Linked DNA regions of Homo sapiens: regions 1, 2, 3, 4 and 6 are each linked to region 5. The links are contacts of gene promoters, found by promoter capture Hi-C in blood cells and fetal thymus (Javierre and others, 2016). All regions are on one chromosome and are shown on one strand. The core of a region is centred on a gene start or on the middle of the fragment in contact, and the rest is flanking DNA. Distances in the headings are between cores, read along the strand shown. Region 1 has its middle 4.0 kb from the start of NOC3L. Region 2 overlaps PLCE1 (phospholipase C epsilon 1). Region 3 overlaps PLCE1 (phospholipase C epsilon 1). Region 4 holds the start of CEP55 (centrosomal protein 55). Region 5 holds the start of SLC35G1 (solute carrier family 35 member G1). Region 6 overlaps NOC3L (NOC3 like DNA replication regulator).

Region 1 (4,386 bases), core at 411-2,910, 470 kb after region 5:
CAAGGATGAGGCATCCCCATTCCAGTTCAAAACCAACTCCTCCCAGCTTCATCAGATTCTTGTATCATTAATTATCCCTTCTTTCCTGTGTTCTTTCCCTCTCTAATAGATCCTTCCCCTCAGCTTATAAACATATTCAAATCTCTTCCATTTTTAAGATTTGTTCTAATAAACTTATCTCCCTTTAATTGCTCTTTTATGTGCCTCTTTTCCTACTTGTCCCTACTTCCAGAAAAAAGTATTCTTTTAGCGTCTCCACTTTCTCTTCTCTATTGTCATAGCCCAATCCTGTGCTAGTATTTTCTTTTTTAATATAAAGATTGCCTTTTTTTATTTTTTTTCTCTGTTGCCCAGGCTGGAGTGCAGTGGCAGCTCTCAGCTCACTGCAGCCTCAACCTCCCAGGCTCAAGGGATCCTCCACCTCAGCTTCCTGGGTAGCTGAAACTACAGGCACGCACCACCATGCCCGGCTAATTTATATTATTTGCAGAGATTTGGTCTTGCTATACTGCCTAGGCTGGTCTCAAACTCCTGGGCTCAAGCAGTCCTCCCACCTCAACCTCCCAAAGTGCTGGGATTACAGGCATGAGCCACCATGCCCAGCATGTGCTAGCTTTTTTAAGAACTGTGTCATACTCTTGGCCCATTTTAAGTTTACAATCAACTAAAATCTCTGGATCATTTTAAAGCAATTGTTGCCAAGCTAAATCTCTCCCATCTTGAATTCGAGCAGCCTGTTGTTCGAAAATACTCAAAAATGGAAGTTTATATGATTCCTTTTAATTCCATTTAATCTTGCTGGTTTCTTAATTCTGTGTGTCCACCTTTGTGTCATCTCTTCTTCACTCAATCCACTGCCAAGCCCCATTTGGACTCCAGATCCTCTTAGATCCCTTAGAGCTTTCCTGGACACTTGAGCTGATAAGGGTCACTGGGCTTTCCCAAACTAGTATCACAGGGATTGTACCTGGAGATTCCTGTTAGCACTTTCAGGAAGTCTGTTAAGAACTTACGTGGCTTTGCCCATAACATTCCGCTGAAACTGATCTAATTAAGGTCACCAAGAACCTCCAAAGTGTTGTGAGTTTTTTCTAATTGTGTACGGAATTACATTACTTCTTTCTCATTTAACCTCACTAGATCTCTCTGCTGCCTTTGATGCTACGCGTATCTCCCTTCACACATTAGAATGTTGATTCCCTTGGCTTTCCTAATAGCCTGTTCCCCAGGTTCTCCTCCTACCTCCATTTCTTCCTCCTTAGGCTTCTTCAATGTAGGTGACTCTCAGGGTTCTACTCTTGGCCCACTTGTCTACCACTCTTCTTGCTCTACTTGCTTTTCCAGCGTGATTTCATCCATCTACCTATTACAAAGAGATTTTGTCCAGCCTATACTTCTTCCCCAAGCTTCATTCTTATAGCCATCTGCCTCCTGGACAGCTCTACCTCCTAACCATGGGACTTCACATTACCATGTTCAAAAGAACTATTTTTTTTCACTTGTACCTCTTGTAACATTCCCTATTTCTTTCTTTTACCCACAGCTAGAATCCCAAATACTCCAGAGATCTTTGTCAACAAGCAAGGGCTTTCTTGGCCATTTACCGTATTATAATTAATCCATTTTCTATAAACAAACAGTTTTGAAAACTGTCACTAAGTGGACATGGAATAATAAACAAGGCTTCTTTTTTTCCAGTACCACAAGATAATTTACATAAGTTATAATAAGGGACTATATGAATGTTTGTCACTTTGTAGTAAGTGTTTGGCGATAGAAAAAGCCCACACTTCAGTATCACAAATTAGAAAATAAACATCGTAATTGGATGTTATCACTGTCAATCATCTTAGACATAAAAGAGGCAGGCAGGTTGCCCTACAGCTCACCCAAAGGGGACCTGTGGAAATTAGAAAAAGCTTCCATGTCCTTAAGACACTTCACTGTCATAGATCAAAAAAAAAAAGTTTGCTATCTTTACAAATAAACTGTGAATGACGCCCCTGGAATTGTACAATATACAGTCCTCCCTTATGTCGAAGTGCTTGGCTCTGCCTAGGCCTCTTTCTGTTTCCCTTCCTAAAATTCAGGGGAAACAAAAACAAAACTAAACTAAAGTAAAATAAAATCCAGGGGAGGGAAGGAGTCTAGAATCTCTGTTCAGACCTTTGAGATAGTGCTACAGCCAAGGGGAAAAAAAAACAACTCACTATCAGAGAGCTAAAAAAACATAACTGTAATATTTAAGTAATATTTAGATATTACTGTCCAGGCATTGTGGCTCCTGCCTGTAATCCCAGCACTTTGGGAGGCTGAGGCAGGAGGATTATTTGAGGCCACGTGTTCAAGGCTACAGTGAGCTATGAGGGTGCCACTGCACTCCAGCCTGGGCGACAGAGTGAGGCTATCGCAAAAAAAAAAAAAAAGAAAGGATTTGAAAATACGTATATCATGGTCTCTACCTTTGAAAATGTTAAAATATTGTTGAGAAATTGTGTGTGTGTGTGTGTGTGTGTTTGTGTGTAGTTGAGAATGATAATTATGAATTACCAAATAGAGAATAATAGAAAAGATCACATAGGTGCTAAAAAATAAAGACAAGCTGCTTTAGAGGAAGTCATAGAGCAATGTATACCTAAATGAGAACAGGAGAAAGGACAAAGTTTAAATAGATGGTATAATTTGTTCTAAGCAAGGTCACTCAGGTAGTACAAATAATTTATATTGTGGTGCATCAGAAAATTAGGTTAAGATAGCTAATAATTATAATTAATTATTAAATTAAAAGTATTAACCAAAAACCAAAATAATAGCAAACATTAGAATAATGATGTAGCAGATTTTTTGTCCTGCTGAACCCACAGCTTGAATCACCCCAAAAGCAGTGGTAGGCCAGGAATTAGTGGCTTCAGTGAGTTATGATCTCACCACTGCACTCCAGCCTGGGCAACAGAGCAAGACTCCATCTCAAAAACAAACAAAAGCAGCGACAGGGAAGTTCCCACAACGGTGTGTCCCAAACTGTCTTGAGAAAAGGCCCCCAGTTGGGATGCCATAGAAAGAAGCATTTTTTTTTTTTTTTTTTTTTGAGACAGAGTTCACTCTTGTGGCCCAGGCTGGAGCGCAATGGCACGATCTCAGCTCACCTCAACCTCCGCCTCCCGGGTTCAAGTGCTTCTCCTGCCTCAGCCTCCTGAGTAGCTGGGATTACAGGCATGTGCCAACATGCCCGGCTAATTTTGTATTTTTAGTAGAGACAAGGTTTCTCCATGTTGGTCAGGCTGGTCTCGAACTCCCAACCTCAGGTGATCCGCCCGCCTCGGCCTCCCAAAGTGCTGGGATTACAGGCGTAAGCCACTGTGCCTGGCCGAAAGAAGCATTAAATGCCGGGGTGATCAACCCAAAACAATTGTTAGGAGAACTTACCTACAGAGTGCTGTGGCAATCCTCATGATGGACAGTGAGAGAAAAGGGGTGTGGACCTAGGTATGTCCACAGTGAGGGGGTCAGGGTACGGAGTTTATATGAGGGTTTAAGGTATGTGACTCAGGGCCTGAGCCAGTACTTTCAGTGTTTTGGGCAACAACTTAGATACTTTTACCAGTGCCTGGGACTGTTCAAAGCCCCAGTTTGTGTTGAAGCCTGCTGGGATGAACCTGCAGATGGCTAGGTCACAGAGCAGTCAAGGCACTCTAATTTTTTATTCAGGACACAGAAAGAAAGCCGCAAGGGGCTGTGCGGGAGGTCTCCTGGGGGCCCTACACAAATGTTGTTGGTGTCTCGTCTACATATCCTCAGTACTTCGTGTTCCATACATGCTGAAAAAGTCCTCTGAGCACTTGCAAATTTTCACTTAAGGACTTTTTCTGGACCCCTGTAGGGCAGGTCTGAAGTGCCACAGATTTTTCCACTGGAAGCATCCTCAATCAACAACAAATGGTAATTGAAGGATAACTATAGCAATTGTGGTAGGCTGAAACATGACTTCCAAATATATGAAGGCTAAGTCCCTGGAAACATGAATATTAACTTATACAGGCAAAGTTGTGATTAAGTTAAAGATTTTGAGATGAAATGATTATGCAAGTGGGCAATCACATGAATCCATTTAAGAGACAGGAGATTTCACACAGACAGACAAGAAGGTAATGTGACTACAATAGGCAGAGATTGGAGTGATGTAGACAAGTCAAGGAATTCTAGCAGCCACCAGAAAGGGGAAGAGATAAAGAACAAACTCTCCCCTAGAGCTCAGTCCAGTGATATTAAGTTCAGACTTGCAGCCTCTAGAACTGTGAGAGAATAAATTTCTGTGTTTTAAGCCACCAAATTTGTGATGATTTGTTACAGCAGCCATAGAAAGCTAATATACCAATAAAATATAAC
Region 2 (4,056 bases), core at 113-2,612, 410 kb after region 5:
AAGCCACCGCGCCCAGCCCTACAATCACTTACTTTTTAAACAGTTTTATTCATCATTCACTTTGTCCATTCCAGTGTTCTTGGGATTCCTTTGCAGAGGGAAGCAGTGAGGTGCAGAGGTTGTCTTTCTTTTTTATCCTCGGTGACTTTGATCCCTTTTGTCTCCCTCACCCTAGATTGTCTCTGGTCAGAATGTGTGCCCCAGTAATAGCATGGGAAGCCCGTGCATTGAAGTCGACGTCCTGGGCATGCCTCTGGACAGCTGCCATTTCCGCACAAAGCCCATCCATCGAAACACCCTGAACCCCATGTGGAACGAGCAGTTTCTGTTCCACGTTCACTTCGAAGATCTTGTATTTCTTCGTTTTGCAGTTGTGGAAAACAATAGTTCAGCGGTAACTGCTCAGAGAATCATTCCACTGAAAGCTTTAAAACGAGGTAGAATAAAATTGTCCAAATGTTAATAATTGTTGTAGCTAGGTGATGGATGCCAGAATTTCCTTATACTCTTCTCTCTTTTCTGTTTGACATTTTCCTATAAAGAAGTTGAATTAAGAAGCAAAAGGAAATACAAATTGGAGCACTTTTGAAGCACATCTCAAAAGAAGTTTTTCTTTTACATTTTTTAAGAATCTGAGGTATTAACAATATCCCTTGTAAAGTACAGCCTCACCCATGCTTGCTGATGTCAGGAGCAGTGGTTGTTGCTACCCACGGCACTGCTGGCAGTTTGAAAGCAGGGATTGAAATAAGGAGAGGAAACATGTCAGAGGGGTCGGGTGTGGTGGTGGCATAAGTGACCGTGCAGTTGGAGTCGGTGCCTGGCAGAAGTCCAGTTTTGGAAGCTGGGGCTGGGTTTCAGGTGCAGGAAGAGGGGAATGGAGAATTCTGGGCAAAGGCTAGAGCTATTTGCTTGTAGATTGGCTTTGTTGTGGCACTCTGATGAATTTCAGCCTGTGCATTGTTTTTAAACTTTGATGTGCACAGGAATCTGCTAGGACTGGTAATACCATGCAGATCGTGATTCAGTGGCCTCAGGTGAAGACTGACAGTTTCCCTTTCTAACATATTTCCAGGTGTGCTGGCTCTGATGGTCTCCTTTGAGCACCAATATTCTAAGTACACACTTCCTCTCCCAGCTACACTCAAGCTGCCATCCTTGGAGCTCACAAACACATTACAGTTTCCTACTTTTGTGATCTTTTCCTGTTTCTCTTCTGTGTGCAAGTAGCCCGTGGTCATTTAATTAGTCTGCTCAGGCTGCCATCATGGAATACCACAGACTAGGTGGCTGAACCACAGAAATGTATTTCCTCGCAGTTCTGAAGGCTGGAAGTCTGAGATCAGGGTGTTGGCAGGTTTGGTTTCTTCTAGGGCCTCTCTCCTTGGCTTGCAGATGGTCCCCACACAGTCAGCCCTCTATGTTGTCTGTGTCCTAATCCCCTCTTCTCATAAGGACACCAGTCCCACTGGATTAAGGCCCACCCTAAGGACCCCATTTTAACTTAGTTACCTCTTTAAAGACCCTCTCTTCAAATATAGTCACATTCTGAGGTACTGAGGGTTAGGACTTCTACACAAGAATGGGGAGTATAGGGTCGGGGGAGACCCATAACTGTTATTATAGAAATGTGAGAAAGTACATAGAAACAAAAACAATTTTTTTTTAATTATCCATTTTTCCATCTCTCCAACACAGTCACTCTTGGTGTATAAGTCTTGCAGGCTTTGTTTCTCTCCCCATGTACGTAACACATGAGCATACAGATATATTTTTAACAAACAGGCTTTCTACTAATCTTTGTGTTTTGTAACTTACTGGTTTTCACTTACTAATGTATACAGTGAGCAACCTTTCATGTTAATAACTATACATGTACATTACCATTTTTACCAGCTGTGTATTATTCCATTCTATACTTACACTTACAGTCATACCATAAATTATAACCAATCTTCCATTGTGGGAATGTTCTATTATCACTAAAGCTGCTCTAAGATGGAACATTTGTAAAACAGGGACTGTTAGTCTGTTAGTGCTTCATTCACAGGGACTGTTAGTGATCAGGTTTTCCTACTAGATCAGGTTTTGTCTGAGTTTAAGGTTTTCTGTTTGAGTCTAAGTTGGAAACAGTACTTGGACAAATTAATTGCCATTGGGTAACTCAGGGGGCAGCACTCTCTTGGCGAAAAGACGCCTGTTGGTTGCATGCCTGTTGCCATCCCTGCCCATTTTAAGGTCTTTCTACCTGTCATTTGCCGACTTCCAGGAGCATCTTCTTTTCAGTAGCCATGGTTAACAAGCTTTTCCCAATTCTGTATTACTCCAGGATATCGACATCTTCAGCTGCGAAACCTTCACAATGAAGTCTTGGAGATTTCTAGTTTATTCATTAACAGCAGAAGGATGGAAGAAAATTCCTCTGGCAATACCATGTCAGCCTCTTCGGTAATGAAGTTCTGTTTCACTCAACATATTTATGGGGATTGCTACACTGAAGGTGGGCTTTTTTGTGGCCCAGCAAAGTGGTCGGTGTGAGTTATTAATTAGGTAGCTATGGAAATTAATAACAATAATGGCTGACACTTGGCACTGACTAAGCACTTTACGTATATACTAACTCAGTCCTCTCAATAACGTCAGGCAGTAGCTATTTAGTATCATCTCCATTTTGCAGATGAGAAAGGTAGAGCTAAGTACATCTGAGGTCACACAGCTAGCAAGCAGCAGTCCAGGATTTACACCCAAGTTCCAGTAACAAAGCCCATATATTACAGTGTCTATCAGGGAAGTAAGCCAAATATAACAAAGTGAGGAAGAGGCTTATTATGCGAAGCCTAGTAGGAAGCATTTCCAATACTTCTAGAAACTTTAGGTTAAACCAGGAAAATATTTTGTTTCTTCAGCAGTCCAGGGGCAAATGTCACAGGCAGAGCAAGGCTGGAGTGAGCAATAGGCTCTGCTGGCGATGCATAACTTGCACCTCAGTGCTTGGCAGATGCAGAAGCTGCTCCCTTGAGAATGGAAGAAGGACACTGTAGAAAGTGCCATAGTTGCAGAATCTGCTTTTTTTTTTTTCCAGAGACAGTGTGTCTCTGTCACCCAGTGTCACTCTGTCACCCAGGTTGGAGTGCAGTGGTGCCATCCTGGCTCACTGCAGCCTCGACCTTCCTGGCTCAAGCAATTCTCCCACCTCAGCCTCCTGAGTAGATGGGACTACAGGTGTGTGCCACTATGCCCAGATAATGTTTTTCTATAGAGATGGGGTCTCACTATATTGCCCAGGTTGGTTTTAAACTCCTGGACTCAAGCGATCCTCATGCCTTGGCCTCCCAAGGTGGCCTCCCAAGGTGCTGGGATTACAGGCATGAGCTACCGCACCTGGCCAGAATCTGCTTTTTAACAAGTGCCTCATGGAAACTCAGTGCCCACTAAAGTTTGAGGACACTTGGACCATGGCCCCCTCACTAATGCAGGATGGTTTAATTAGGTAAGAATCTGGGCTGAGTGCAGCGGCTCATGCCTCTAATCCCAACACTTTGGGAGGCCAAGGCAGAAGGATAGCTTGAGTCCAGGAGTTCAAGATCAGCTTGGGCAAGACCCCATCTCTATTAAAAAACGTGTTTTAATTGAGCATAGTGTCGAGCACCTATAGTCCCAGCTACCTGGGAGGCTGAGGCAGAAGGACTGCTTGAGTCCAGGAGTTTGAGGCTACAGTGAGCTATGATCACACCACTGCACTCCAGCATGGACAAAGAATGAGATCCTGTCTCTAAAAAAGGTATTTTTAAAACAACTACTTTAATTAACTGGCTAATTCCATTATGCTTCCTCTTTAAACATACATTTTAAAAGTGTATCCATTGGTTACCCCCTTTACATGTTTAATAATGTGATTACTTCTGTGTCAATCTCAGACTCAACGTAGTCCTAACAATCTTTGGAAAGGCACCTTCTGCGCTCACAATGGCACTGGCCATGATGGCTTCCACTGCCACTTTCTGCTTTCTTTTCTGCCCTTCTCCTGCCCTCACCACTATCAGTTTTGACTCCCGC
Region 3 (3,928 bases), core at 752-3,251, 430 kb after region 5:
AGGTAACGTGGGAAATTACATTACAAGCTACAACTATACAACTGCAAAATGAGTTGGATGAAATGATCTGGAAGATCCCCTTCATCTCTAGTCTGGGCCATTTTTCCACCTTAAAGTTTCATATAGAATGAATGCAAATGTTGGAGATTCTGTGTCTTTATTCAGTTGATCATAACTTACCTTTCAGACCTTATGCAAAGCCAAATATTCCTACAGCATCCTGAGCAACCCCAATCCAAGCGACTATGTGCTTTTGGAAGAGGTGGTGAAAGACACTACCAACAAGAAGACTACCACACCAAAGTCCTCTCAGCGGGTCCTTCTGGATCAGGAGTGTGTGTTTCAAGCCCAAAGCAAGTGGAAAGGTGCAGGAAAATTCATCCTTAAGCTAAAGGAGCAGGTGCAGGTAAAGTTTAAAGTTATTTTGCTCTGTTCTTAAGTTATCTGATACCCATAATTACACTGTAGCCAGATCTGGAAGCTGGTGAAATTTAGGAGAAAGTTCCTGAGTCAAGGAATGGAGTTAGGAGAAAATTGTTTGGCTTTGTTTTCACTGTGTGAAAAAACATGTGGCCGAGCTTGCGGTTAAGCAGTCCTAGAGGGGAGCTCCTCAGCCCTACTCTCTCCAAAGCTCTAGAGAGAAGAGGAAAGCGCTCTTCTGAAATAGTGTCATGTGACAGAGGAACCTGAGTTTAACCTAACACCAATGGAAGGTTCTTTGTTCCCACAGGCATCTCGAGAAGATAAAAAGAAAGGCATTTCTTTCGCAAGTGAACTCAAGAAGCTCACCAAGTCAACTAAACAGCCCCGAGGACTTACATCACCTTCTCAGCTCTTGACCTCAGAAAGTATCCAAACCAAGGAGGAGAAACCTGTGGGTGGCTTGTCCTCCAGTGACACAATGGATTACCGACAGTGACTAAGGGCAGCATGTTTAACCCAGGTATAGTAAGTCATTGCACCATCCTGGAACAGGGCTTAACTTAAACTACTTTGTAAGGAAGGCATAATTAGTACAATGTCTTTTATCTTTTCCAACAGGAGGATGTCCCTTGAAGGCAGGTAGGAATGGGACCTTAAAACAGGAAAAGGGCTCTGAAGATATGTGTAACATGATATGCTATTGAACACCGCCTATAAAGAAAAAGGGAAAGAGGCTGGGCGTGGTGGCGCATGCCTGTAATCCCAGCACTTTGGGAGGCCAAGGCAGGCAGATCACCTGAGGTCAGTTCAAGACCAGCCTGACCAACATGGAGAAACCCCGTCTCTACTAAAAATACAAAATTAGCTGGGCATGGTGGTGCATGCCTATAATCCCAGCTACTGGGGAGGCTGAGGCAGGAGAATCACTTGAACTTGGAAGGCAGAGGTTGCAGTGAGCTGAGATCACACCATTGCACTCCAGCCTGGGCAATGAGAGTGAAAACTCCGTCTCAAAAAAAAAAAAAGAAAAAAAAAAATATATATATGTAACTTGAGCTTTTGTAATTTTAGACCCCTTATTTATTTTGTAGATAAATAAGCAAAGCTCCCAAGAAGTCAATCAACTTGCCCAAAGTACTCTGATAGCCTTATTTCATCAGACAACTGTCTTCAGTATTAATAGCTGACAGAAACATTCTTCAAGGGCTCTATGGATCATTCAGCTTTTATTCTTTTGGATTTCTCGTTTTATTACTGTTCTAATTTAGGTTTGATGTAGCTTCAACAACCTCATCTCCTTCTGCCTCAATTAAAAAAATAAAAATCTGGCATCCGGGATGTGGTTAAAAAGAAAGCAAAATAACATAACAGCCTCAATCTTGGAAATGCAGTAAACTGACTGCTTGATAGTCACACAAATTTCATTCTATCTTAAAGCAAATTATTTACATGAGACCTGAATAAAAGCATGTGAGGGAACCAGTGGTAAGTCTCTCCTTTTCGCTTAGTTTCCTAATGAACCTAAGGGTTCATTAAAGCCCACTTTTCACCTGTTCCATGGTAGTTCACAGATTTAAAATTCCCAAGATGAACAGCACAGTGAAAGCATTGCTGTTTATGTGACAGAGCTTCACCATCTGCCTTTATGACAATGAGGAACTTCTGATATAAAACTGCCAAACTGCAGAAACTCACAATTAAAGAACTCAGTGATGCCTCTTCCCAGAGCCAAATTTTACTTAAAACAGCCCAAAAGAAGGCCCAATACATTGAGATCATGTTTCCACATTTAAAGAGCAACTCCTAAAATAACTGATGTCCTATATTACACTCTGCAGTGGTCAAAATTTTAAATATTGTTTTCCATATCCAGAAGTTAGTATCAAATAAATCATAGGTGTGATGTTATACACACCTCTATAACTTCTGTAATGAGGTGAAATTACACTAAAGCTAGTAAATTGGTCATATACTTCTCTACATATAAAGAGCCCGATATGTGCTACAAGATTACTTCTTAAGTACAGAAGAATACAACTCCATTAGAAATTTGACTTAAAAATAATATGCCTACTATAATGAACATTGCTAATTGCTTATATTTTAGGAGACTGGGGGAGGGTGATTGATAGTGATTTAGATGATTGCCTTTAGATTCTATTGTCCTGTAGCAAGTAGATATTTATTTTTTCTGACCAATGGATTCACATGACTTTTTTTTTCTTTTTCTAAGCAAGCAGATATTTAGAATCATTCTGTTAACTTCACAGCTTTGCTTAAAGCTGGGGAGGCCTGGCCAGGCACAGTGGCTCACGCCTGTAATCCCAGCACTTTGGGAGGCCAAGGCGGGCAGATCACGAGGTCAAGAGATTGAGACCATCCTGGCCAACATGGTGAAACCCCGTCTCTACTAAAAATACAACAACAGTTAGCTGGGCGTGGTGGTGTGCGCAGGTAGTCCCAGCTACTCGGGAGGCTGAGGCAGGAGAATCGCTTGAACCCGGGAGACGGAGGTTGCAGTGAGCCGAGATTGCGCCACTGCACTCCAGCCTAGCGACAGAGCGAGACTCCGTCTCAAAACAAAAGCTAGGGAGGCTTCTCTTATAGTCATTGGTGCATCTATGTGAATTGACATCCCATGTTATGACCTCCTTTACAATGGTCTTTTCAAGAAAGAGCACTTGTAAAAGAAAAGAAGAGCTCATAAGAAAAGAAGTTTAGAGTTTAGGACCAGGCACAGTGGCTCATGCCTGTAATCCCAGCACTGTGGGAGGCCGAGGTGTGTGGATCACTTGAGGTCAGGAGTTCGAGACCAGCCTGGCCAACATGGTGAAACCCCATCTCTACCAAAAAATATAAAAATTCCTGTAGTCCCAGCTACTCAGGAGGCTGAGGCAGGAGAATTGCTTGAACTTTGGAGGCAGCAGTCCAGCCAGACAAGAGGGAGAGAGAGCAAAAAGAAAGTTAGTTTAGTATTGTTTCCACTTTTTAGGTAACATATTTCATATTTGTTCTAAAATGATCCCTTTTAAAGTTTCAATAATCTACAGATTTTTAAAGAACATATTCATCTATCTGAAGTAGTAGTTAGCTGAAGGAATTCCACCTTTTCTTAAAGTTGAACAGTTTATTTGATGTGATCTTTTTTAAAAAAACAAACTTTCTAAAGAATGTGAAATATTTATTTCCAAGGCAGAAATAACCTAATGTTCTACTTCCTAGAAACATCATGTTCTAACATTGTGAGTACAGAGGAAACAGTCTCTTCCCCAAACCTAGCCACTAGAGCTGTGGCTGGAAAACTCTGAACCCTTGGTATACCGCAAGTGTTTCTGTTTCTTCATTTTCAGTATACTAATAAGCCTCTGTATACAACATTACAGGTGAAGATCTTTAAGCAAGAAGTTAAAGAGTGAACATGGTGGAAAAAATATAATTATTTTCATCAGACTTAAACTGGAAATTGATGATTTCTGAACTGAAGCCTTCACACATGTGAGATCCA
Region 4 (4,215 bases), core at 1,700-4,199, 400 kb before region 5:
ATCAAAAAAAGTAAAACACATTAGGTGAGATCCGTTTTAATATGTTTCATTTTACCCAATATATCAAAAATACTATCATTTTAACATGTAATAATATAAACAAGTATTAGTGCAATATTTTACATTCTTTTTTCATACTAAGTTTTTGAAATCTGCTGTGTATATTCACACACCTCAATTTGGACATAAAATCTTCCTCAGAAATACTTGATCTATATGTAGATTTCATAAAATTTACAATTGAAAAAACAGGTTTTTGTACCCAGGTTGTTCCAAACATACTTAAAAGTTTTCCAATAAAATAATAATAATAAAAAAAAGAAAAAAATAAGAAAATCAAAAGTTTTTCAATAAATAAACTTTTAGTTTTTAAATTAAGATTAAATAAAGTTAAAAATTCAGTTTCTCAATAACGGTGGCCACATTTCAAGCACTCAGTAGCCATCTATGGCTAGTGCTACCATATTGGATAGATCAGGAGGGACCTTTCCATCACTGCAGAAAGTTGTATTGGACAGTGCAGATCTACACGCTGGTGAGGCCCTGTGTGTTCATTAGCATTGCCTTGGAAGATGTAACCTTCAAAGGTGATAGGTGCTCTAACCTACAACAGCCTCCCTATTTCCATTTAATATCTTTAAACCCATTCAGCAGCCTTTTGATCCTGTTTTGGTTTCCCAAGAACAGGTTCCTACTGGGAAGAAAATGAGCTCACCTGCTTAGATAAATATCTAGTCTGCTTGGCTGTTACATTTCTCTTTACATGAATAAAGATGAGTTTCCCAATCTTCATCCTAGACTATCCCTGAGTGAACTATCAACATCAAAGTACTTGTGAGATCTTGTGGAAACTACCAGCTCTTCACAACCTCATGACTGGCAGCTCCTATCTGTAAAGAGCAAACATTAATTTTCAGGGCTAGCAATGGCAATTAGGGAATTTAACAAGCCCCCCAGGCCAATGAGCCTCTTGTTTGCTCCTCTTCCTCAAGGTCCCCACTCACAGGGCGACCTTTAGCCAGAAAAGAAGGTCCTGGAGGGCAGGTGTGGAATTGGAGTGTCTGGCACAGCAGGCCTGGGTGCTGGCTACCCAGGTGCCAGTCCGCCAGGTGCCACCTCTCTCCAGGGTCCCTCCTCCCTCTCCCCCATTTTTTGCTCCCCATTTGGCTTGAAGGTGAACAGGGAAATGTTTTTCTCTATATCTCTTTAAGAATCTTTGTAAATCTCTGTGGAAATTAATTTTGCCCCTCAACTCTGGGCAATGAATAATGTTCACACGATGATTTATCTTTTGCCCTGATTTTTCCCACCCTAATCCCACTTGATACTTTAGTTTACCTTCCCTTCAGAAATGGGAGCTCCTTGGAAGCAGGTACCAAACGTTATCTTGCATTCTGTTTTGGTTTTGTTTCTCTGATTCTTTAAAATTCCCCACATGGTTTTCTCATCCATTCTATTCAGTAACATTTGAGTGTTGCCTTTTGTTTAACAATGGCTAACATCAATTGAACATTTACTAAATGTTAAGCACTTTACATGAATTTCTTTCATGTAAAAAAATTTTAAAGTTTTAAAATTAGAGACAGGGATTGGGTGGGGTGAGAGTGGATCTCTCTGTGTTGCCCAGGCTGGTCTCCAACTCCTGACCTCAAGCAATCCTCGCTCCCCGTCCTCACGTAGTGGTGGGATTACAGGAATTAGCCATTCCACCTGGCCGGATTTCCTCATTTAATCCTTATAACCGAGCTGTGAAGTAAATATTATTATTTGCATCATTTTACACATCGGGAAACCGAGGCTCAAATAGGTTAAATAAATTTATCCAAGGAGACACATCTAGTCAGGGCAGTAAGGAATTAAATCTAGAAAGTCCTAATCTAGAGTTTATAACCTTTGTACAATATTGTGTACCTAGGATGTTTTGCTACTGTGTATCTACTGTTTTAAATCTCCAGCGAGTTTATGCTGGGTCTAGGAGAGAAAGGGAGGCCCTGCTAAACATTTCATGTGCTTCTTCTCTCAGCAGTAACGTTCTCAAAGCGGCTAATCAAGAGCTAGAATCGATCAATAGATAGATATCAGGCTGGAGGGTAGCAGTCTGGTCTGAAAGCCGGTCCGCTAGCATTCATAATCTCAGCGTTCAACCTGGGCGTGCCTCTCATCTCTCCCGTTAACACTCCCTGCTGTGCTGCTGATTTTTGGCAGTAATCCCAGCACTTTAGGAGGCCGAGGTGGAAGGATCACTTGAAGGCAGGAGTTCGTGATCAGAGTGGGAAACAAAGTGAGACCACCCCCCCCCCCCCCCACTCCGCTGTCTGTATAAAATTTTTTAATAAAAAATTAGCCGGGCGTGGTGGCGTGCGCCTGTAGTCTCAGCTACTCGGCAGGCTGAGGCAAGACGATCGCTTGAACCCGGGAGACTGAGGTTGCAGTGAGCTATGATTGCACCACTCCACTCCAGCCTGGGCGACAGAGTGAGACCCGAGGGGATGACAAGGGGGCTGTGCTCCTTTGTGAAATCCCGTTGTCCCAGGGCAGGAGGGGCCGCACTTCACACAGGGAGAATCTATGCTCAAGAGCGCAGAACTAGTTCGTCTCGGTCCATCGTCACTGGTTTTATCCCATTAAAAATAGTAATTTGCTTTCTCCTAAAAGCGTATAAACACAAAACCAGCCCCTGACTGCGAGACACCAAGCTTGTTTAGGTCTAAGCCCGCAGAGAACCCCCGATCCCAGAATTAGCTGGCGGGCCCGGGAGGAAGTGTTCCCGCCCTCTGTCCCGCCCCGCGGCCCCAGCCACTTCTCGGCCCGCCCTCAGGTTTACTCTCCGCCCTTCAAAGGCGGCAGCCAATCGGGGAGCCGCGTCCCCGCCGCGCGCGCGCTGCTCCTCCTTCTTGCGGGCCGCGCCCTGCCGGCAGTGACGTGCCCCGCCCTGCAGCCGCGGGATTCAAACTCCCGGAAGCGGCATCCACACCTGATGGTGTGACTCGGCCGACGCGAGCGCCGCGCTTCGCTTCAGCTGCTAGCTGGCCCAAGGGAGGCGACCGCGGAGGGTGGCGAGGGGCGGCCAGGACCCGCAGCCCCGGGGCCGGGCCGGTCCGGACCGCCAGGGAGGGCAGGTCAGTGGGCAGATCGCGTCCGCGGGATTCAATCTCTGCCCGCTCTGATAACAGTCCTTTTCCCTGGCGCTCACTTCGTGCCTGGCACCCGGCTGGGCGCCTCAAGACCGTTGTCTCTTCGATCGCTTCTTTGGACTTGGCGGTGGGTATCATCTCCTTACAGATAGGCGCAGAGAGGCCAAGTGACTTGCCCAAGGTCTTTTGTTAGGACGGCTTTTTCCGATTGGCAGGCACTTTCGTTGTGTGTTCCTCAAACATCTTTATTTTAGAAGTGAGAAAACTTGTGCCTTTTTTTGCAGTTTCTCTTTTCCTGTCTGTCTCCTCAAGTGAGATTTTATGTGGGAATTTTTAAAGATTGGCGTCGCCTTGTAGAAGATGCGGCTTGTAATTGAGGCCTTGTACCATTTACTGGATGGAAGCGCTTGTTTGGTCACCTGTCCAGCATGACTTAGGTCACTTCAGCTAATCAACCAATCATTTCTTTTCTTTTTTCTTTTTTTTTGAGATGGAGTCTCGCTCTGTCACCAAGGCTGGAGTGCAATGGCACGATCTTGGCTCACTGCAACCTCTGCCTCCTGGGTTCAAGCGATTCTCCTTCCTCAGCCTCCTGAATAGCTGGGACTACAGGCGTGCGCCACCACGCCCGGTTAATTTTTGTATTTTTAGTAGAGACAGGGTTTCGCCATGTTGGGCAGGCTGGTCTCGAACTCCTGACCTCAGATGATCCACCTGCCTCGGCCTTCCAGAGTGCTGGGATTACAGGCGTGAGCCACCGCGCCCGGCCCCAATCAACCAATCATATCTGAGGGCTTGCTGTTAGGCTCTGTGGGTAACAACAACAACAACAAAAATCAAAGTGCAGTCCTTGAAAAAATAGTTGAACAATTGAAAAAATAAAAGGTTAGCAGGAAGTGTAATTGGGTACTAGATTGTGTAGGGGTGGGGGTGGGGCAGCTATATCGTTTGTTAAGAGTTCACAGAGGGAAGGCATGCTGAGGAAGGTTTGAACTGGGGGAACCCTGTGGATGACTGGAATAGGAAATACAGGGAAAGGTGGCCGGGCGCGGTGGTTCACGCCTGTAATCCCAGCACTTTG
Region 5 (4,103 bases), core at 511-3,010:
CTCAAATCATCACACTTCTTTCTTCTTTACCACACTTCCTAGCCATAATCTTCACCATTTAAGAGGAGGGGACTCTTCAAACCCTTTCCATATCGAAATCTTAGAATGCAATTGTGAAACTGCACTTGACTTCCCAGATATTTGAGGAAGCTTCCTGGTTCTTGCTTTATAATCATGATCTACCACCCTTACCATCCTTCCCTGAAATTTCCCTATCTAAAACAACGACAACAAAACCTGTTACAGATATTTTTGTAAGTAGCCTTAAATTCTTTTAAAAGTATTATTATTTTTTTTATAGAGACAAGGTCTATGTTGCCCAGGCTGGTCTCAAACTCCTAAGCTCAAGCAATCCTCCCACCTCAGCCTCCCGAAGTGCTAGGATGGTAGGCTGAGCCACCGTGCCCAGCCTTAAATTCTCTTTTAAGACAAGGCAAAAGTATGTGTTAATCAAGTTAGAATTCAGGTGACCATTTGTCTCAGTTTGCCTAGGACAGTCCCAGTTTATGCCTATTCCCTTGTGTAACTTTTAAAAGAGCTCCTCCTTTTACTCTTAAAAAAAAAAAGGTCCAGTTTGGAGGATAAATTATATGCTGACCCTAGTTTAAAACACACTTTGATTTTCTAACATAGTGTTTTCCAGGTGATATTATGCTTTTGCCCACATCATTGCATTTTATTTACATAACTACTCTGCGAAGCAGGAAGGGAAATACTTGATCGCTATTAAATAAAGGAGGTAATCAAGGCTTCGAGGGGTACAGTGGTGACTGAGGTCACACACTCAGGGCCAGAACCTAGGATTCCTGACTTCAAGTCTAAAACTGTTTCAGCTGTGGATCACTATGTGCAAATGTCTGAGTAAAGGCAAACTTCACTCTCCTTTGGTGATCTGCTTGGCACTGGACTTAGAAGTTTAGATACGTTCATCCTTGCACAGAGACTGTTCTTCCACATATAAAGCAAGCAAAGAGATGGAAGAAGAATTATTAGCTAAACAAAAAGAGGCTGTTAGTGAATCCTGGGCCAAAGAATATATTTTACCAGGTCTAATTACATCAGATTACTTGAATCTTACATCTGGCCAAATTAGGATATTTCCATTTAAGAAAAGAAAACCAAAGATCAATAATGCATGCCTACTCTTGCAAAGAATGCAAAGAACATATAAATGGGTTCTGGTCAGTCTTATAGATATATTTTCCTATAATTACACACTAATTCTTTCTTAAAAATATTTCCCAAAACAGCAAAATTCTACCCTCCTTGGTAAGCAGCAAAGGGACAACACGGGAAACAAAACAAAACAAAACAAAACAAAACAAAACATAAAAACCCTAGACCATTTAAAGACAAGCATGGTGCTTTGTAAAATCTTCGGGGTATCACAGAGGTGCTGAATGCGTGGTTACATCAATGAAAAAACGCCCACTCTTTGAGCCTCCTGAAAAGGAGGCCACAGGACCCCCGGGCGCCAGGGCTTGGGAACCCAGCGCCCCTCCTTGTCTGTGCCATGACAGACAGGTTCAGTGTGACTTGCCAAGGATGGCTCCAAGCAGCTGGGCCATGTAGCCTGAACGCAGCAGAGGGTTGGACGCCTTAGAGCCAGCTGTGGGCACCACAGCCCGACCAGGGAGGCAGCGGGTCTCCCCAGGTTAAGAGGCCAGCGGAGGACGCGCGCGGTCTCCTTGGGGGAGGGTGCGGGTGGGCCGGGCGCGCATGCGCATGGGCGCCATCGCCCGCCGGAAGAGCGGCAGCCCAGGCGCTGCTGCTGGCGCCAGACGGCACCGGCCGCTGGTAGAGCGCGTGCCGCGAGATGCGGCCTCAGGACAGCACCGGGGTCGCGGAGCTCCAGGAGCCCGGGCTGCCGCTAACGGACGATGCACCCCCGGGCGCCACTGAGGAGCCGGCGGCCGCCGAGGCAGCTGGGGCGCCAGACCGCGGTAGGTGCTGGCTCTGCCTTTCCTCGCCGTGTTGCTCCCGCACCGAGCCGGGTGAGTGCGCGGTGTGGATCGGGCTCTGGTCTCGCTCGGGGGTCCCGAGCGGGCGCCGGCGGGTTGGGGTCCCCGCAACCCGGGCACAGTGCCCGCCGCGCCTCCGTCCCCACCCTGCCCGGGGCTCGGGAAACCCCTCGAGCTGTCAGCTGGGGGGCTGCAAAGCGGAATTCCCGGCGCCCCAGCCGGCGCTAAGACGGAAGAAACTTTCCGATTGTTAGCAGTCCTTTTGGGATTCCGAGGCTGCTCCTGTAATTAGTGTCGGGGCAGGGCTGTGGAGTCAGACTGCAGTTTGGCGTACCCTCCCCTAGGTCGTAGGTGGGGGGTCAGCGAGAGAGGCCATCCTGCAGTGGGGCGACGTTGCGAGGAAGCTGACCCTGAAAAGTGATCCCGGTGGTTAAGGGTTCTCTCCGAAAAGGAAGCTGAAAAGCATCGAGTCTAGAAAAAATGTTCGTCCTAGAGTTTTAGAATCTTGGAAAGGCAGAGATAAGTGGGACCGCTAGTTTTTAACCTTTAGGGATACAAGGACTTTTTAGCAAACGATGCAGAACAAGGCATATCTTGTTAAGAAGCTCACAGCCCCGTCCCCAAAGTCAGGGACCCCTCGTGAAGAACACTTTATGTTCAGTCCCCCTCCTTCGACACATGAGCAAAGTGAGGCCCAGGAAGGTGAGGGCTTTTGGGTTTTCGTTTGCTTTGTCTCCTCCAAGATGTGGAACGTGGGGGTGAGATGGGGCGCATGTCCAGGGAGCACCAGGGTTAGGATCCCAGCTTGCCATATACCGGCCTAGGGCCCTTTCCACTGGCCACAAGTGCTGCTTCAAGCACATTCCTCTTAGAAGTCGACCATCTACCAGGAGCAGCTTCCTGCAAGAAGAAGGGAATAGGCAGATCTCTTTTTAGGACAGTTACACGGCCTGCACCACCTTGTCCTCTGGGTCACCTCCCCTAAGTGTGACCCTGGATTTCTGTTCCTCTCCTCTCACTGCGCTTTCCCCTCCTCCCTTTGTGCACTTTCCCCAAGTTAGAGAGACAGACTCTAGGAAGACTATTCTTGCTCCATTTCTGTCCTAAAGGCAAACCGAAATGATCAGACTTGTGATCATTTATAAATGGGCTGGTGCCTCTAGAACAGGGGTTATGCCAGGCTGAATTGAACAGATAAGCAGCCTTTGAAAAGGTCAGTTTCTCACCTATCACCCTCTGGGTGAATGTCCTTCTGGTGGCATGCCGAATCAGTCCATGCAAACTCTTAAAGTTTCCCCTTTTTGTGAATGGAAGAGGAATTCTCTACTCCCAGGCAGCTCATGGCAAGATGAGAAACTTACGTGAGTGTATCTAAGAATCTTGTGGGTGTTTAACTTCAAAGAAAGTTTCTACCAGTAAGACTTAGTTATTGTAAGGTGACAAGATAATATTTTGGAAAGAAAATTGACATAAAAACACTTTACTGTTGTCATTGAACTTTGTGACACCTCTTGTTCTAACTGCTTATCTCAACAAAGCTTTTTTCAAGTTCTGGTTGGAACTGTTACCCATATGTCTTACATTCTTGGATGACCTTAACAGACACATACAGCTGTCCCAAGACATCTCCTTACTTTCTTCAGGGACAGTGTGGGTCTTACACTGAAGCAAGGAGAAGTAGTTTCTTAGGCCTGTGCCTCACATCCTCTGGAGGGAGTTAGTGATCGAGTGTAGCAGTGGTTCTCAAACTAGTGGAGCCTTTTAGAGTTACAGAGATTCTATTTCGGTGGGTCTGAGATGGGGCTTGAGAATTAATTTTTTTTTTTTTTGGAGATAGGGTCTTACTCTGTCACCAAGGCTGTGGTGCATTGGCGTGATCACAGCTCACGGCGACCTCAACCTCCTGGGCTTACTCGATCCTTTCATCTAAGTCTCCTGAGTAGCTGGGACCACAGGCACACACCACCACACCCGACTAATTTAAAAATATTTTTTGCATTGATGAGGGGGTTTCCCCGTGTTGCCCAGGGTGGTCTCAAACTTTTGAGCTCAAGAGATCCTCCCACCTTGTCCTCCCAAGGTGCTGGGATTACAGGCATGAGCCACTGCACCCAGGAATTAAAGTTTTAAGTGTTACTCAGG
Region 6 (3,915 bases), core at 1,340-3,839, 450 kb after region 5:
CAGATCACGAGGTCAGGAGATCAAGACCATCCTGGCTAACACGGTGAAACCCTGTCTCTACTAAAAATACAAAAAATTAACCGGGCATGGTGGTGGGCGCCTGTAGTCCCAGCTACTCGGGAGGCTGAGGCAGGAGAATGGTGTGAACCCGGGAGGCGGAGCTTGCAGTGAGCCGAGATCACGCCACTGCACTCCAGCCTGGGTGACAGAGCAAGACTCCCTCTCAAAAAAAAAAAAAAAAAAAATTTCTACAAAAAAATAGAAAAATTAGCCAGGTATGGTGCCCCACATCTGTAGTCCCAGCTACTCAAAAGGCTAAAGTGGGAGGATCACCTGAGCCCTGGAAGGTCAAGGCTGCAGTGAGCTGTGATTGCACCACTGCACTCCGGCCTGGGCAACTGAGTGAGACCCTATCTCAAAAAAGAAAAAAAAGACCTATAAAGGTTATCTTTAAGATAACCTAGTATGAGGCAGATTTACAGGGTGACTATAGTTTACAATAATCTATTATCTATTTCAAAATAGCTAGGAGGGAAGAATTTGAATGGTTGTCACATAAAGACACATATTTAAGGTGACTGATATCCCAAGTAAAATATTTACAAACTATATTATATGAATATATTTAATTATCACATATACCCTGAAACCATGTACATCTATTATGCATCAATTTAAAAAAAAAAAAAAGAAAACAGGTCAGACAACCCTCCTGCTTAAAACTCTCCAATGGTTGAAAACGTTCTACATCTTGACTGTGGTGGTAATCATATGATCATAGGCCTTTGTCAAAATTCATAAACTGTACATCTAAAAGGGGTTTTACTGTATACAAAATATATCTCAATAAACCTGAAAAATTTTTAAAATAGTAATTACCATTTATATCTTTTAAAAAATAATTTATTATTACTTACACCAGACTCAATGAGAGTATGAAGAACTACTAACAGATCATCAAAAAATTCCACATTTATAAGGTGAGCAAACCTGGAATCAAACAAAACAGTTAATCAGTGAACTAAAAGCAGAAATAAAGCTGGTAGAAATTAAGCTTGACTTTAAAACTGTATTTTTAATATTCTTTATTTCGAAATGTTAGCTATGAAAGACATGGCAATTATTGATACTTTTCATTAATTCAGATTGGCCTCTTCAACAATTCATACACCATTGAACACTAAACTCAGTAGAAATATATAAGGCACTGAACAAACCAAAAATATTTCAAAAATCCTTCTGCACTGAGAAAGAAATTACTAGAAGCAAACAACTTCCTGAGGAAAGTTTAGGAGGTATCCGGCAGGATCGGCTTCTAAGAAAACAGGTGGTGGGAAGAGAGACAAGGAAAGATTCTGCTACTTACAAGAATATGGACCTTATGACAGCTTTAAGGATAAAATGGAAAGAATACTGGACCCCAGTATCTAGTTCAGGCTCTGCTCTTAATTACCTGCGTGATCCTAGGTAACTCACTTCACTGTCCTGGGCCTCTATTTGTAGAAATAACTGAGACCACCCAATAGGGTTAAAGAAGAATCATATGAGCTGCTAAATTTGAGAGTTACTCCATATACTATAGTAGACACTGAAGTAGGTTAAAGTCAGGACATCTCTTCAATATTAGCAAGAAGTCTTTGATCTATGTAAATCTTAGAAGAATAAAAGACCTTATGAGTGACATATTCCATGCATATCGGTACAACTTTTTGGAGAAGCAATCTGACAATTATTTATCAAAATTTAAAATGAGCATACCCTTTGATCTGGCACTACATGCACACACATGCATGAAGATACACACACACACACACACACACACACACACACGTGCGCAAGTATTCCCAGTGCAAATAGGCGACTGACCAAATAAAGTACAATATATCTATAAAATGGAGCACTATAAATTTTTTAAAAATTAAGTGATATATATGTGATAAGGGAGAGGTACCAAAAGTAACTGTTTACAAAACCAAAAAAAAAAAAAAAAGCAAGTTACAGGACACTAAACATAGCATGATTCCATTTGCATGAAAGATGGCAGGCAGGCCCGGTGCGATGGCTCATGCCTGTAATCCCAGCACTTTGGGAGGCCGAGGCGGATGGATCACCTAAGGTCAGGAGTTCGAGACCAGCCTGGCCAACATGAGGAAACCCCATCTTTACTAAAAATACAGAAATTAGCCAGGTGTGATGGCACATGCCTGTAGTCTCAGCTACTCGAGAGGCTGAGGCAGGTGACTGCTTGAACCTGGGATGTGGAGGTTGTAGTCAGCTCAGATTACGTCACTGCAACCCAGCCTGAGCAACAGAGCAAGACAGTGTCTCCAAAAAAAAAAAAAAAGGTGGCAGATGGCACGCAGACAGACTACATACATATATAGGAGGGGGAGCTTGCAATTTTAAATTGTATATTCTTTTGCATTATTTAAATTTTTTAAATGACCATATATTATTTTTTAAACTTTTTTAAATAAAGGAATTAGTTATTAAAAAACAAATAGCTGGGTCGAGCATGGTGGCTCACGCCTGTAATCCTAGCACTTTGTGAGGCCAAGGCTGGAGGATGACTCACTCAGGAGTTCAAGATCAGCCTGGGCAATATGGTGAGAGCTTGTCTCTATTTAAAAACAAAAATAAAAACAGCAAGTCCTACACAATGTAGGAATAATCCCTTCTCTGACCAGCCTCTCTGAAGATTTTTAACCACAAGGACCGTATCACCATATAAGGAAATGCATACCATTGCCAAATAGCTCCAGTTATTAGAAAGTAATTTCTTATGATAAACAGAACTTGCCTTTTCTATATCTTCTAGCCATCAGTCCTATTTCCAACTCTATTCCTAAAGTTGTACTGCCCAACAATGGTAGCCACTAGCCACATGTGGCTGTTAGGCACTTAAAATGTAGCTAGTCCAAATTAAGACACAAGCGTAAAATATAAGTGTTCGAAAATATGTTATGAAAAAACACCAAACAACTCATTAATGTTTAATATTGTGTTAAAATACTTCAGATAAATCAAATCCAGTAAAATATATAAAAATTAATTTCACCTGTTTCTTTTTATCTTTTTAATGTGGCTAATAGAAAATTTTAAATTATATATGTAAGTTCACATTATATTTTTACCGAATAGCAATGTTCTATAGGATACCACCTCAAAAAATTGTGGAACGCTATCATGACAACCACAACCCTTACTCTAGCTCACATCCTGACAAGGCCATTAGTGTTGAGTGAATACACCAAAAGATCTATCTTAGCAGAAACACATTACACAGAACTAGAGAAATGATGTACAGCCGGGTTAAAATAGACTTAAGAGTCATCTGCATGATCCACTCAAACTATGACGATGGGCAATTGACTACACAGTGCAGAAAGAGTCAAGAACTGAGAGATTTAACCTTAGGAACACCTAGAATTTAGTAGGCAGAAAGAAGGAGTTGGTAAAGGAGATTTTAAAAATAAAAGGTTTGAGATGAGAAAATCAAAAAAGCCCACTGTTATGAATAGCTTCAAGTAAAGGCTGGTGACAATCAGAAAAGGAATGAGAACTGAGGATAATGGGCCATCATTAGGGAACTCTCGAAAATTCTTTGGTCTTTCCTATTTAGAAGGAATCTAAAAGATTTCAACCTACACAGCCCTTACTTGGCAAGACCTTCTAGAACTGCTGGCAGGAGAGGTGACCTCTGGGCCTTCTTCAATATTCTGAAGTAGGTTACAAACACAATATTCAGAGTCTCTGTGTGCTGGCAGAGGAGACAGACAAAATGACTTTAGGATAACCTGGTATGCTTTCTCCTGAGTGAGCATAAGTATCACTTCAACAGGTTAACTTTTTTCCCTACCCATCCCTCCCCACAATGCAATCTTTGAAATTTTTAACAAAACAGAATGAAGATAT

What was found. The method cuts DNA at HindIII sites, captures the fragments that hold promoters and counts their contacts. A CHiCAGO score of 5 or more calls a contact.
Region 1: a contact is called between a fragment that was not itself captured here and the fragment with the promoter of SLC35G1 in region 5, in 3 of 17 cell types (fetal thymus, non-activated CD4 T cells and activated CD4 T cells). The highest score is 7.9, in fetal thymus.
Region 2: a contact is called between a fragment that was not itself captured here and the fragment with the promoter of SLC35G1 in region 5, in 1 of 17 cell types (endothelial precursors). The highest score is 6.6, in endothelial precursors.
Region 3: a fragment that was not itself captured here is called in contact with the fragment with the promoter of SLC35G1 in region 5 in 2 of 17 cell types (endothelial precursors and megakaryocytes); the score reaches 5.1 in endothelial precursors.
Region 4: a contact is called between the fragment with the promoter of CEP55 here and the fragment with the promoter of SLC35G1 in region 5, in 1 of 17 cell types (fetal thymus). The highest score is 5.6, in fetal thymus.
Region 6: a fragment that was not itself captured here is called in contact with the fragment with the promoter of SLC35G1 in region 5 in 1 of 17 cell types (endothelial precursors); the score reaches 5.0 in endothelial precursors.

The regions. Positions count from the first base shown.
Region 1 is chr10:94,364,750-94,369,135 of GRCh38, forward strand. No RefSeq gene overlaps it. Among named protein-coding and RNA genes, the nearest start is that of NOC3L, 4.0 kb to the left of the region's middle. The HindIII fragment of the contact is 513 bases long and covers 1,405-1,917 here.
Region 2 is chr10:94,306,252-94,310,307 of GRCh38, forward strand. PLCE1 (phospholipase C epsilon 1) reads left to right here. Exons shown (of 33, transcript NM_016341.4): 26 at 176-437; 27 at 2,330-2,448. Among named protein-coding and RNA genes, the nearest start is that of PLCE1-AS1, 21 kb to the left of the region's middle. The HindIII fragment of the contact is 1,878 bases long and covers 424-2,301 here.
Region 3 is chr10:94,324,162-94,328,089 of GRCh38, forward strand. It overlaps PLCE1 (phospholipase C epsilon 1), which reads left to right. Exons shown (of 33, transcript NM_016341.4): 31 at 188-406; 32 at 731-943; 33 at 3,807-3,928. The coding sequence ends at 919. It also overlaps a transcript of NOC3L not described here. Among named protein-coding and RNA genes, the nearest start is that of NOC3L, 37 kb to the right of the region's middle. The HindIII fragment of the contact is 4,129 bases long and covers 1-3,928 here.
Region 4 is chr10:93,493,663-93,497,877 of GRCh38, forward strand. It overlaps CEP55 (centrosomal protein 55), which reads left to right and starts at 2,950. Exons shown (of 9, transcript NM_018131.5): 1 at 2,950-3,261. RefSeq lists a silencer at 2,769-3,278. The HindIII fragment of the contact is 5,966 bases long and covers 2,695-4,215 here.
Region 5 is chr10:93,892,218-93,896,320 of GRCh38, forward strand. SLC35G1 (solute carrier family 35 member G1) reads left to right here and starts at 1,761. Exons shown (of 3, transcript NM_001134658.3): 1 at 1,761-1,994. The coding sequence starts at 1,817. RefSeq lists silencers at 1,735-2,164, 3,650-3,699. The HindIII fragment of the contact is 3,349 bases long and covers 149-3,497 here.
Region 6 is chr10:94,340,756-94,344,670 of GRCh38, forward strand. NOC3L (NOC3 like DNA replication regulator) reads right to left here. Exons shown (of 21, transcript NM_022451.11): 13 at 3,660-3,760; 14 at 918-990. Among named protein-coding and RNA genes, the nearest start is that of NOC3L, 20 kb to the right of the region's middle. The HindIII fragment of the contact is 3,075 bases long and covers 1,053-3,915 here.